Regions from separate parts of the Homo sapiens genome. Here region 1 is linked to region 2. The links are contacts of gene promoters, found by promoter capture Hi-C in human tissues and cell types (Jung and others, 2019). All regions are on one chromosome and are shown on one strand. The core of a region is centred on a gene start or on the middle of the fragment in contact, and the rest is flanking DNA. Distances in the headings are between cores, read along the strand shown.

What was found. The method cuts DNA at HindIII sites, captures the fragments that hold promoters and counts their contacts. A contact is called where the count stands out against the background at its distance.
Region 1: a fragment that was not itself captured here is called in contact with the fragment with the promoter of ZNF239 in region 2 in 1 of the 25 tissues and cell types used here (dorsolateral prefrontal cortex).

What each region holds. Positions count from the first base shown.
Region 1 is chr10:44,869,522-44,876,902 of GRCh38, reverse strand. All of the region lies in intron 2 of TMEM72-AS1 (TMEM72 antisense RNA 1), which reads left to right. Among named protein-coding and RNA genes, the nearest start is that of TMEM72, 38 kb to the left of the region's middle. The HindIII fragment of the contact is 3,983 bases long and covers 3,848-7,381 here.
Region 2 is chr10:43,572,043-43,578,978 of GRCh38, reverse strand. ZNF239 (zinc finger protein 239) reads left to right here and starts at 4,363. Exons shown (of 4, transcript NM_001099282.2): 1 at 4,363-4,439; 2 at 5,302-5,342. RefSeq lists a silencer at 4,581-4,640. The HindIII fragment of the contact is 7,605 bases long and covers 1-5,454 here.

The DNA.
Region 1 (7,381 bases), core at 4,590-7,089, 1.3 Mb before region 2:
GTTGATTCTCTTCCTCTTGTTTCATGGTACCCTTACTGTAAGGGGAGTGACCAGAACTGGCCACACAGTGGGCATCTTCTAGGCACTGTCCTGGCCAGGAGGACAAGGCCGCCTTTTGCACTGGTTCCCCTGTCAGGTCAGGCCTTGGCCCACCACCTGTGCCTTCCATGTCCTCCTTCCTGTACACTCACGCACCCCTCCCCTGGTAACCATGTTGCCTTTACACCCATGAGCCCTGCTGTGGTGCCCTTGCCAGGCACAGTGAGAAACACAAGGGTGACCTGTAGACGAACTGGGCTGATATGGGTGGATCAAGGCCCAGAGCTGTTGTATAGACGCGTCAGAAATACATGCGTATGAGAAGGGAGAGTAATGAGAAGAACCTCATTCACTGGCGAGTGGGGAGGAAGGTGCTGGCAAGAGCCTGGTATGGAGCTCAGACTAGAGGTGGACCAGCCTTGTCTTTAGAGCTGTATGAAAGCTCGAAAGCTGCCCCCACCCCAACTCATTCACCCAGTCACAAAGATAGGTGACCTGTCATCAGATGGCTTCTGTTTCCCGCTAACAGTCTAGTAACACAGATGAGCCCATTCTCCTTAGCACCATTCTCTCCACCACCAACACTTACTGGTCACCTCTGGATACTGGAAGGAAGAGGTGAACTGGAAAGACAAGACCACTCTCTGCCCTCAAGATGGGGCTGTGTCTAGCTAAGTGAGATGTGTGTGTGTGTGTGTGTGTGTGTGTGTGTGTGTATACACATATATGTATAAAGACAACCATATTTATTTGTCTATATGGGACTACATCTCTGCATAAACACTACCATATGCAGGCTCTGAGGTCAAAGTTCATCCTTACCTCAGCTAGACAGGAGGATCCAGCATTTTCTAATTAATAAAATACCTCACAGCTTTCCTTATCCTGCTGTAGTTGGACATGGAATTCTTTTGGTTATTCTGCTTAGGAAAAGTAGCCTCTGCATTAAATGCCAAGCTCTGTAGGGGAGCAAAGCCTATGCTTTGCTTAACACATAGAATGGAATTGCATTAATGTGAGAAAGCATTTCGAAAATGATGGAGTCTGTAGAGATGCTAGGAATTGTTTTCATGATCATTACCTGAAGCTTCATCCTAAAATGTGCTGACTCTTAATTTAAGTATATGCAACCCAAAGTTATCTAGGCCTGTCAGCCTCAGCCTTAAGCTCTAGTCTTAGCACTGTGATGCATGAAGAGAAATGTAATTTCTACTCCAAAAGTGTTTTAAGATAACATAAGATTGGCCGAGCGCAGTGGCTCACGCCTGTAATCCCAGCACTTTGGGAGGCAGAGGCAGGAGGATAACGAGGTCAGGAGATCGAGACCATCCTGGCTAACATGATGAAACTCTGTCTCTACTAAAAATACAAAAAAAAAAAAAAAAAAATTAGCCGGGCATGGTGGCAGGAACCTGTAGTCCCAGCTACTCAGGAGGCTGAGGCAGGAGAATGGCGTGAACTTGGGAGGCGGAACTTGCAGTGAGCCGAGATCGCACCACTGCATTCCAGCCTGGGTGACAGAGTGAGACTCTGTCTCAAAAAAAAAAAGAAAAAAAAAAGATAACATAAGACTTTAATTAAGTCTTTGGAGGGCTGGCATATCAGGGGTGCGACACACAGCAGAAGATTTCCAAAAATCCTCACACATGTGCGCCACTGTCCTTGTCAGCATGGCCTTCTCCTCACCCTTTCATGGGCCACAGTCCCTCTTCTGGCCTCCCCTAAAAGCTCTGGCAGGCCCTCTTTCATGACCACTTCCCATCTACCTCTTCTTATAGCTCTCCTGGTGCCCTGAAGTGACACCTTAGCACAGGGTGAGCCTCCTTGGCATCCTTCAACACCACAAACAATTCAGGACCAGGCTTCCACTGACAGGTGGGGAAAGGTGCTGAGTACTTTATGCCATATTGTTGCCTTTGTGACATACTCTATAAAAGCCACTCAAGTTGGGTCTAAAGTCTTCTTTGATTTGCATGAACTGTAGGTATTAACAGTGGGGGAAGCTGCACCTTAATAACTCTTGGTGAGGGGTCCCCTGTGGAGTCCACCAGGCATGGGAATTTAGCCTCACTTACTGATGAGGAACTGAAGAGTCAGAGGGGCGATTTGACTTGCCCAGATCACAGAGCTCTTAAGGGGGCACAGTCTGGTCTTAAACTCAGTTCTTCTGGCTTCGAGTTGAAGGTCATGTCCACAAACTCCCAGAGCAAGAACTGAGTCTCAACTCTGACCTTTGGATTGTGCGTGCTACACCAGGAATCACAGCTTCACAGGGAATAAATGTAGACTTGTTTCATTGCACAAACTGGTGGCATTTCTACCAGTCATAGTGACTGAGAGATGAGCAGTGCTTTGGCACTCTAACTGGGTGACCCTCATCTCCCTTGTGCCACCTGAGCCCACCCAGGGGAACACTCCCATCCAGCTATCCTGGTCAGGGCTGCATTGAAACCACTGGTTCCTCCAGGACCCAAAGCCGCTTTTCTGGATGGAATGTAAATCATTCCTACCTGGGGCCCTGCCAAGCCTTGGCAGGATTCAATGTGACATTCAGTTCCAGATTAATCCAAGTTGGAACAGTTTTGCTGAAGGTTTAGAGACCTTCAATTTATTTATCTTCTGAAACCCTGAAACAGCTTTAATAACATAGCTTTGGATTTCTGCAAGTGAGATGTATGGGCTCAATAAGTATTATTTTTACAACAGATATCCATAATCATTATAGTAACAAAGGCACCTTCCTATATTTCTTTAAAGTTTGTTTCTTTCTTTTAAGCTTTGTCCCAGGAATGGGGTCTGTAATTCAGGGACCTGTAGAAGTTCACAGTGTGAGAGGAATGAAGTGTCCAATCTGCAATCTGAATCTTCCCTATGAAATTTCCACCTGGTGCCCTCCAGCGCAGATTCTCGCACCCACAGTCCTGCCTTACAGGGCAGACCATTTCCTCTCTGACAGTACTACCTGTCTGAATGTTCTGCTTCAAACTGAGTCAAGATATGTGAACCCTGGGTAGAAGAATTATCAGGTCTGGAGGGAGCACAAGCAAACTATCCCATTTTATGGACGTGGAAACCGAGGCCTGAGGGAGAGACGCACCAGGAATCAGGAGATCTGGCTCTGATCAGCTGTACAAATTGAGAATTGTGACCTGACCTTGTCCAACCCAAGTGGCCCAACTCCTAATTCTGTGAGTGACATGTCTCTGTTACTTTGGAATATTGATTGAAGGTATGTGATTACAACTTTTTATTATAATATTCTGAGACAATTTTTTATTATAATCTTATGAGAAGCTAAGGACTGGGTGGATATTTTCCTGGGTTAAAAGTAAAGTTTTTCTTGTTGAAAACTTAGACATTCAGAAAATTTTCAAATTGTTTTTATTATATAGAAACTGTAGATTAGAAACATATTGTATGATGATTGTTCATGATGCTTCAGCGTAATCACTTCAGCAATGTAGCAATGACGCCATTCAGGGGCGTTTTCAAAGTGTGGCCTTGGGCCAGCACCATCGGCATCTCAGGAAACTCTCACAGGGACAGCCCTGCTCTACTGGATCAGAAGCTCTGGGGCTGGGACCCAGCAATCCATGCTTTAACAAGCCCGTCAGGGGCTTCCTATTCATGCTGAAGTCTGAGACCCACTGTTACGGAATATTGTCTTCCTGATCTTGATAGTGTGATGGTAAATTTTATGTGTCAATGTGGCTAGGATATGCTGCCCAGTTGATTGGTCAAACACTAGTCTAGAAGTTGCTGTGAAGGTATTTTTTAAACATTTAAATCAGTAGACTTTGAGAGAAGCAGATTACCCTTCATCATTTGGGTAGGCCTCATCTAATCAGCTGAAGGCATTAAGAGAAATGACCGAGGTCCCATGGGGAGGAAGGAATTCTGCCTCCAGACTGTCCTGGAACTCAAGACTGCAACATCAACTCCTGCCAGCTTTTCCAGCCTGCCAGCTTACTTTGAAAATTGCCAGCCCCCATGATTGTGTGAGCCAATTCCTAATCTCTTCTCATATATATATATATATATATATATATATATATATATATATATATATATGTATGTATACATATACCGTATGGCTCTGTTTTTCTGGAGAACTCTGATAAATACAAACAGCATTAGAATCCAATCTCAGCAATTTCTCATTTAGCCCAAGCTCAGCTGCACAATCCTTCTCAGTGCAAGACTCCAGACAACTGCTTTCAATAGGCAGGAGCCAGCATAGGCATGCCACTTAATAGCTGTCCAGGACTTAAGATGGTAACTGGGGGCCGAAAAATTTGTAGGTATACCTGATTTGGCAGAAACCATTTGATTTTAGGCTATTCTTTAGAAAATTCTTTATTGAAAAATATCTAGATTTCAGTGGGAAGTTAAAAAATGGATGGATCCGAATTTGAATCCCTGCTCTAACTTACTCTCTAAGTGGCCTCAGGCAAGTCACTTAACCCATGTGATCAATATTTTCTTCATCAATGAAGCAAGCCGGGAGTGGTAGCTCATGCCTGCAACCCCAATGCTTTGGGAGGTTGAGGTGGAAAGATGGCTTGAGGCCAGGAGTTCAAGACCAGCCTGGGCAAGATGGTGAAACCCCTATCTCTACAAAAAATACAAAAAAATGTTGGGCATGGTGGCATACACCTGTGGTCCCAGCTACCCAGGAGGCTGAGGTGGGAGGATCGCTTTAGCCCAGGAGGTTGAGGCTGCAGGGAGCTATGATTGCACCACTGCACTCCAGCCTGGGCAACAGAATGAGACCCTGTCTTTAAAAGAAAAAGAAATGAACCAAAGGTACTAAGGCTTTCCTTCTGTGGTTTTAATAAAGCTTCTAGGTAGCACATCTCAGGTGCCAATTTATGTCAGGCTTATTGTAGGCGCTCGGTGAATAATAGTTATTATGGTTTCAGCTTGCCATTCCCCAAACTGGAGGTATGCCAGAAAGATATTACTGTTAACTGGGAGTCCTAGGTAACTGTTCTCTCTGGTGAATCTGTGATTTACTGTAACACAGTAGAGATAACATGTTTAATTGTAATCAATATAGCAACATTATTATTTGAGCAATGCAGTAGGCACTGACTGGGGAGGGATGCATCCCAAGAATGTGGGAGCCATAGCAGCAGCCCTTGGTGATGAGCAGTACTAAGGCTATGATGAAGGCTGTCAAGGATGCACCCACATTTCATCATAGAAAGAAGCCAGGCAAGCCATGGGCTCTGGGAATTTCTATTAAAACAATATAGACTTTTAAGGGGGGATGTGGGGTACACAATCTATTGGAAATGTTATTTGTCCTACATAATTCTAGGGACATGAATGATGTAGGGAAACAATGTTATCAAACAACACGATTTTCTGTTTCAACTGAGAGGAAGAGTGGCCTATTCAAGTAAGCCCAGATTAATGTGTGAACATAGCTAAAAGGATCAGCATTTTCCTGTTACTTGAACACTCACAGTGCATTCAATTATATTTTAATGAACTTGAAAAACTGAATTCAATAGAAACAGTTTTGGAAGACTAAGAGGCAAAGCTTAATGATGAAGATATTAGAAAAGTTATACAAACTAATAACTACTAAGAAAAGTAAGGTGGTATTCAAAGATTTCCCCTCCTCAAATCCCCAAGCCCGGATGGGTTATAGATGAATCTTACTAAATTTTCAGGAACAGTTAATTGCTAATCTTTATAAGTGGTTCCGTAAGATGGGAAGAGAAAGTTGTGTAGCTCATTTTATGAGTCTAATGTAATTCATAACTCAAGTATCAGATAAGAACAATAAATACAAAGAGAAGAAGACTTCAATTGATTAGTATATCAACATTGAAGGAAAAACTAAATCTTGGCTAAGTGAATCAAATCTTTTGTTAAGAATATATTATAATTAAGTAGGATGCCACCTAGGAATACAAGAGTGACTCATCATTGGAAAAATTGTCATAAAATCTTTTGTTAAAAATATTGCCATATTAAAAGACTACTGAAGAAAAATTACATGGCAATTAAAATTAATACAGAAATAGTACTTTATGAAATTCAACAACTTTTATGATTAAAAAAGCATAGAAAACTAGGAACAGGAGGAAATTTCCCTAACTTGGCAAAAGTTATATTCAAAAAAACCTACCACAAACCTAATATTTAATGGAGAAACATAAGACCCATTTCCTTTGAAATTACAAACAAAATAAGGATGTCCAATGCTATGGTCTGAATGTCTGAGGCCTCCCCAAATTCATATATTGAAAATTTCAAGATAATGGTATTAAAAGGTGCGGCCTTTGGAAGATGATTAGGTCATGGGGGCAGAATCCTCAGGAATGGGGTTAGGGCCTGAGACCCCCTCATCCCTTCTACTGTATGAGGACACAGTGAGACTGTGTGCAGAAAGCATGCCCTCACTAGACACCAAATATTTTAGTGTCTTGATGTTGGAATTCCCAGCCTCCAGAACTGTGAACAATAAATTTCTGTTGTTTATAAGCCACCCAATTTAGGGTATTTTTTATAGCAGCCCAAATGGACTAAGACATCCATTCTAACTGTTTCCGTTTGGCACAGTGTTTGAGGTTCTGGCCAATGTTGTAAAAAGAGGAAAAAAAAAAAGCTGGAAGAGTTGGTGTGTGAGAGAGATTCTAGCTGCTCTATTGAGGGCCAGTGACGGGCAGGGGTGAAGGCGGCGGGGATCGGACCAGACACTAAATCACTCCGGCTTGAGCTGGGTCTGTAGCTATATAGGTGGTGAGAAGTGGTTGGATTTTGGGTAAATTTTGAAGATGTGCTTGACAAATTTGTCAAAGGATTTGAAAGTGGGGAACGAGAAAAAGAGAGGGGCCAAGGGTAATTCTGTGTTTTTTTGGTTTTGTTGTGTGTGTGCTATTTTTAACTCGAGCAGTGGGAATTACTAAGATGGGGAGACAGTGGGAAGCATAGTTTGTGGGAATTTTGAAAATGCCAAGTTTGAGATCTCTACTAGATATTTAAGCAACGATGCCAAGAGGTAGAGAGGACTCTAGGGTTCAGGGAGGAGGTCTGAGCTACAGGGAGACATTTGAGGGTGGTCAGTGTAGAGATGAGATTCAGAGCTATGAAATCCAGTGAGCTCACCAAAGGAGGCGAGTTAGAGAAAAGAAGACTGAGTTTTAGGGCGCTGCCAGTTGAGAGGTTGGGGCAATGTTGGGGGAAGGAGAAAGACCATCCAGGAAAGTATGAGGAAAACTACAGGCACACGGTGTCCCAAAGGACAGGTGGAGAAAGCTTCTGTAGAGAAAACGCTCAGTGATATTTTCTGAGAGTCTGAACACGTGACAAAAGGGAGTGAATCCTT
Region 2 (6,936 bases), core at 3,114-5,613:
GACAGTCTTTTCAATAAATGATGCTGGGAAACTGAATAACCATATGCAGAAGAATGAAACGAGACCCCTATCTCTCACCATAAACAAAAATCAAATAAAATGGATTAAAGACTTAAATCTAAATCCTGAAACTATGAATCTACTAGAAGAAAACATTGAGGAAACACTCTAGGGCATTGGTCTGGGCAAAAAATTTTTTGTGTAAGACCTCAAAAGCATAGGCAACAAAGGCAAAAATAGACAAATGGAATTACATCAAACTAAAAAGCTTCCGCACAGCAAAGGAAACAACCAACAAAGTGAACAGACAACCCCACAGAATAGGAGAAAATACCACAACCTATCCACCTGACAAGGGATTAATAACCAGAATATACAAGGAGCTCCAACAACTTTATAGTAAAAACACAAATAATCCAGTTTAAAAATGGACAAAAGAGATCCGAATAAACATTTCTCAAAAGAAGACATAAAATTGCTAACAGGTATATAAAAGAATGTTAAACATCACTAATCATGAGAAAAATGCAAATCAAAAGCACAATGAGCTATCTTCTCACCACAGTTAAAATGACTTTTATCTGAAAAACAGGGAATAACAGATGCTGGCGAGGATTTGGAGAAAGGGGAATCATTGTACACTGTTGATGGGAATGTAAATTAGTACAACCACTATGGAGAACAGTATGGAGGCTCCTCAGAAAACTAAAAATAGAATTACCATATGATCCAGCAAATCCACTACTGGGTATATATCCCAAAGAAAAGGAATCAATATACTAAAGAGCTATCTGCATTCCCATGTTTACTGCAACAATATTCACAATATCCAAAATATGGAATCAACCTAAGTGGCCATCAATGGATGAATGGATAAAGAAATGTGGTGTATGTACATAACGGAATATTATTCAGTCATAAACAAGAATGAAATCCTGTCATTTGCAGCAATATGGGTGGAACTAGAGGCCATGATGTTAAGTAAATAAGCCAAGCACAAAAAGACAAATATTGCATATTCTCACTCATACGTGGGAGCTAAACAAAAAAACAAGTGGATTTCATGAAGATAGAGAGTAGATTGGTGGTAACCAGAGTTCAGAAAGAGTAGAGGTAGGGGTCTGAATAGAGGCTGGTTAAGGGGTATGTATTAGTCTTTTTTCACACTGCTATAAAAAAATGCCTGAGACTGGGTAATTTATAAAGAAAAGAGGTTTAATTGACTCACACTTCCACATGGCTGGGGAGGCCTCAGGAAACTTACAATCATGTTGGAAGAAGAAGCAGTCACCTTCTTCACAAGGTGGCAGGAGAGAGAAGAACAAAGGAGGAACTTCCAAACATATCTCACAAACCATCAGATCTTGTGAGAGCTCACTCACTGTCATGAGAACACCATGGGGGAAACTGCCCCTTGTGATCCAATCACCTCCCTCCCTCCACTTGTGGGAATTACAGGTCCCTCCCTCAACACGTGGGAATTACAATTCAAGATGAGATTTGGGTGGGGACACAGAGCCAAAACATACCAAGGTGTAATACACAGTTAGACAGAAAAAATAAGACCTGGTGTTCAATAAACCAGTAGGTTAGCTATGGTTAACATTAACCTACTGTACATTTCAAAATAGCCAGAAGAGAATCATTTGAATATTTCCGGCATACAGAAAAGACAAATACTTGGCGATAGATATCCCAATTTCCCTGCTTTGATCTTTACACATAATATTAATCAAATTATCACATGTACCCCCAAAATATGTGCATCTATTATATACCAATTTTTAAAATTAAGTTAAAAATTAAATTTTGGGTTTTGCATGTGAAAAAAGAGAGAATATGGGAGAAAAGAAATTGGAAACATCCCTTAGGGACAATTTTTTTAGGAGTTTTGCTGTAAAGCAAAGCAGAGAAATGAGGTAGTGGCTGGAGAGAAATAGGGTGCAAGGTAAGGGGTTTTATTTATTTTATGGACAATATTACAGTGTATTCATTAGTATGCTGATAATTCAGTACAGAATGAAAATCTTGAAATACAGAAGAGAGAGAAGGACCTCATTCATGAGAAAGCATTTAACATCCAGGGTGCAAAAGAATTTTCTCATATAGGAACTAGGGCCAGTGACTCAGAATGAAAAGTAGAGCATACAGTTTCTAATGCAGAGAGGAGGGCAGATGTGCCTGTGAGGCGGTATAGAAGTTCTCTTTACTCAGTAACAGAAAGCAAAGTCATCAGCACTCAGTGAGATGGGAGGAGTTGTTGGCGGCTTGAAAAGAGAGTAGAAGACCAGGCATGGTGGCTCAGCCTGTAATCCCAGCACTTTGGGAGGCTGAGGTGGGACGATCGCTTGATCCCAGGAGGTGGAGACCAGCCCGAACAACATGGTGAAACTTCATCTCTTAAAAAAAAAAATACAAAAATTAGCCTGGTGTGGTGGCGCAAGCCTATAGTCCCAGCTACTTAGGAGGCTGAGGTGGGAGGGTTGCTTGTGCCCAGGAAGCAGAGATTGCAGTCAGCCAAGATCGCACTACTGAACTCCAGCCTGGCTCAAAAAAATAAATAAATAAATAATGAAAAGAGAGTAGAACCTGTGAAATAGTCATTTAGGAGAATGGATGGACTAAGAAATGTAGAAGGATAGCCAGGCAGCGTGAAGGGCCCACTTGAACTTAATGGTTATAAACTGAAAATGAAACCAATCATCCCAGCCATGTGGTTTTCTCAAACAACCTCTGCCGTACAGGCGCAGGCCAGGAACTGGATTCAAGCAGATTTGGGTTTCCATCAAGAGAATAAAACCAAGAAAGACTGGGACAAGAGAGTTAAGGGTAACGGCACATACACAGGACTGGCCATAACCATGCTCCATGGCCTCTTAAATTGAGTGAGGAGAGAAGTGAGCACATGAGGAAGTGAAGGTCAGGGCAAGGGTGGTAAATCTAAATAGGGAAAAGCTCTGTGGTTTTCCAATGAAGAATGAGGAGAGGAGTAAGGTCCAAGGGAGACATTTTGTGTTCCCCAGGCAAAAGGTAAGACAGCATCTCTGAGGAGGAGACCGAAGGGGACGTGGGCCTCTCCAAGCATCGCAGGCTGAAAATAATAGTCCCCCAAATATGTCCATGTCCTAACCCCCAGAAGCTGTGGATGTTAATTTCTATGGCAAGAGGGATTTTTTTTGAAATGTGATTAAATTAAGGATCTTGACGTCAAGAGATTATCCCAGATTAGCCAGCTGGGCCTGATGTAATCACAACAGTCGTTATTAGAAGGACCCACGAGGAGCCAGTGCCTGAGCATGTGATGTGATGATGAAGGCAGAGGTTGCAGTCATGCACTTTGAAGATAAAGGAGCGAGCCATAAGCCAAGGAATGCAAATAGTCACTGGGAACTGGAAAAGGCAAAGAAATATTCTCATCTAGAACCTCCAGGAGGAACTAGCCCCACCAACACTGACTTTATAAAGCCCAGTAAAACTTGATTTCAGACTTGGCACCTCCAGAAGTTTAAGAGAATACATGTTTGTTATACTACTAAGTTTGTGTTAATTTGTTGTGACAGCAATTGGAAACTAATACACCAAGGAAGGGGGAGGATGTAGAAGAGAGGTCCAGGCAACATCTCTTTCCTCTCCAAAATAAATCTGAAAGAAAGGAATTGGGAAAAGACCAAATGGGTAGCTCTGTGTCACTCGGTGAGAAGTGAAATAAACGTAAAATCCTGGTATCAACAACCCTTGTGTGCGTTTAGGAGAGTTCTGACTGCTGGGAGCCACTTGTCTAATTCCCTCACCTCCTGTGTTTGTTCCAAGATCCCCTATTTAAAATTGCAAAGTACACCTCCAGTCCTACACACCCACAAACGCACCTCGCCACACCCCGCCCAGCTCTATGCTTTCAGTACCACCTCATGACACACACGACGCCATATATTTACTATATTTATGGATTGCTTGTTTCCCCAACTAGAATAGGGCAGTGACTTTTGTGCAAGCATCTTGAACAGCTCCTGGTACACAGTTGGCTCTCAATTAATATCTGTTAAATGGATGAACTTCAGAGGTGAGATGGAAGATGCCGAATGGCAAATATTCACTTCAGAATGTTTTGAAAGGTAAAGATGAAATTATGGGTATTTACATCCTTTTCCCCCAATAGTATTTTAACAAATGAAAATCACCTTAACAGGTATTCCTAAAATAATTCTTATTTGTTTGTAATAAAAAACGAGGAGGAGGACTTGAATACACGCGTCGCTGACTCAAAGATGGTCCCCTCCGCCCAAGAATCCCGCTCCGCACAGCGCAGAGTTCAGGGGCCCGCGCCGGAAGTGGGCGTGGTTCGCCCGCGGCTTGCTGGGACTTGTATTTCGGGGCCCTAGGCGCGCGAGCGGTCAGCATCCGGAATCTGGCCCCTGCAGGCGTGGGGTTCCACGTGGGAGGTGAGACTGGCCGGGCTTCCCCAGCCGCTGGCAGAGGCGTTCAGGGGTCAGGAAATGGGTGTGCCGCGGGTAAGGCGCTGGGCCGCCGAGCTGCGGAAGCCGGGAGGGCGGCGATGGTAGGGCACGCGACCAGCGGAGGCGCGGCCCGCGGCGGCACGTGTGTCCCGGCGCCGCATTTCCGAGCTGCTGCGCCCCCGGGGCCGGGCTGCGGCCACACCGAAGCCTGTGGGGCCCTGCAGCTGAGCGGCCGCGCCTCCGATGGCCCCTCCTCCCTCCTGGCCGAGCTCTGGCCTGGGCCGGCTGGGGGCTTCGTGGTTGGCCACGCCGGCCTTTTCCTCGCCTGTGACGGGCGTTATTGCAGGGGGGTTTTCGGTGGACGTTAGGCGACGGACGGGGGCTCCTGTAAGAGACTGAGGTTTCTGTCCGCAGCACTGCCTTCGCTGAAAAGAGCTTGCATCTGAGCCCCCGCACCGCAGGAACGAGCCAGGCTCCTGAGAATGAGGTCGGGGAAGGCGTCTTGGGCAACCGAAATCCATCCCGAGAAGCTTCTCCTCTTAACTAGAACTTTAGGACAGAGATCGGGAAAGTCAGAGGAAATGGGCACGGCTTCGAGCTGCCGGCGGCTGCGGAATTTACCTAGCCTCTTGGTTTTGGGGGGAAAACTTGGCTTGTTTAATCGAAAGCCCTGTGGAGAGAGATGAAGGTGGTGACAGAAAATGCTTCACCTCTCACCTGATGGAGGGAGTGTGGGTGGAAGTGACTGAAGAAGCGTCAGAGGCAGGAGCGGAGTAACTTTTTCCCCGCAGTCTTGCTGGACTTGATTTTCATGGCTTTTTCTCTTTCCCTAACTCTGCCTTTCCAGGAATCCATCCCCTCTGGGAGTAAGAAATGACCAGGGTCCGGGTGAGTTGGCGTTCCATTTCTCCTAAAATGCCATCTCCCTGAAATGTCCCTGTGCCATGTGTTGTTTTCTTTATTGTCAGGCCCCCAGTACGGTATTTTATAGCTATGGATGTAGGGACATTAAGATACTAAGGACATGTAGCTAGCAGATGATGTCACCAGGGTCTGCACAGAGAGTTTTCACTGGCCCATCCTGCCTCCAAGAATTTATTCCACTCCTCAGAGCAGTGGGCTGTGCCCTCCTGGGGAGCCTCTCAAAGCCTGCCTTTTCCTGCCAGACATTTCACTCACATTGAAAGTCATTCCAAGCTATTCCATACTCATCCCAGTGCTAAGTGGTCTCAGCAAAACAGATAGAATGATAAACCACGGTGCTTTTCTTCAAGGAGCTTACCATCTTGATGAACATATTATATTACCTGTACACAAAAAAATGCATATTAATAGTGATAATTTATTAACTATGAGTCAAAAACGAGGAAATTCGTTAAATGGCAGCACAGTGGTTACAAAATCACTCTAGAAATGCTTTTCAACTAGGCTATGCATCAGAACTCTCTGTGGTGTTTTTTAAGAACTAAGCTTCCTTCTCTCTTCCAGACCTAGTGAAAGGAGAGTTTCACTCCTTTTTTATTCTGTTGATCTTTGTACATCCAAAGGTTTATTGTGAAATATCTCTCTATACACTATAAGTGTCTCTAGGGTAGGTAAAATGAGTTATTCATCCTTTATACTCAGGTTGATTTGTTCTCTTTCACTAGCATGTCTACATATTTAACTGTTCCAGTAAATTTTAAATTACCAAGTCGTACTTTTTTAAAGAGAGTTTTCAGTTGTCCCCATAAAACCATCTGTAGGAGGTTACCTCAAAATTAACCCTTAGACTCCCAGGGTATTTGAGATGGTCAGCCCCCACTTAGAATCCCATGGTGTTTGAGATGGTCGGCCCCCTCTTTGCCCTGTCCTGGCGTTTTATGGTGGAGAGCTCTAACTCGGCTAACTCTGAGAGAGCCGAAGGAAAGTGCCTTGTCCTTTGTTTCAGAGAGCAGAAGGCCAGAAATAAACCCCGTGTTTTCTTCCTTCAGGCTGTTCTTTCTCCATTAACTAAACAGGTCATCACATCAGAAGTTGTTTGAATAAAATATCAGACTGCGTTTTAAGGGAAAAAAAATGTTTTTTAACACTACCAGCAAAGGCCATCTTTTTGCTTGGCAAATACAGCCCTCACACACATGAGCTCTTAGAAAAAATCTGTTTAGAGGACAGTAAGCTGACTTGAGGTACTGAGAGCATGGCTTCTCTGTGCCCTGAAAAGTAATTGAGGACTTCAAGGGAGATTAACCTTAGTAGAATCAATACATTTTCCTTCCTTCGCTTCTGCCTGCTCCCTAATGATTAAGTATTCACTGCCGCTGCAACTGGGGATTGCCAGTTTAGTAAATTTTGAGATTCTGGTGTGTGTTACACAACAACTTTTTTAATTTAAAGGAAGGACTTCATTCCAAGCATTGTGTGTTTTCTATGTACCACACATTGTCCTTAGGTCTGCTGAAAGGCGGGAGTCTTAGTTAACCCTGCTTTTCCTCTGTGACAT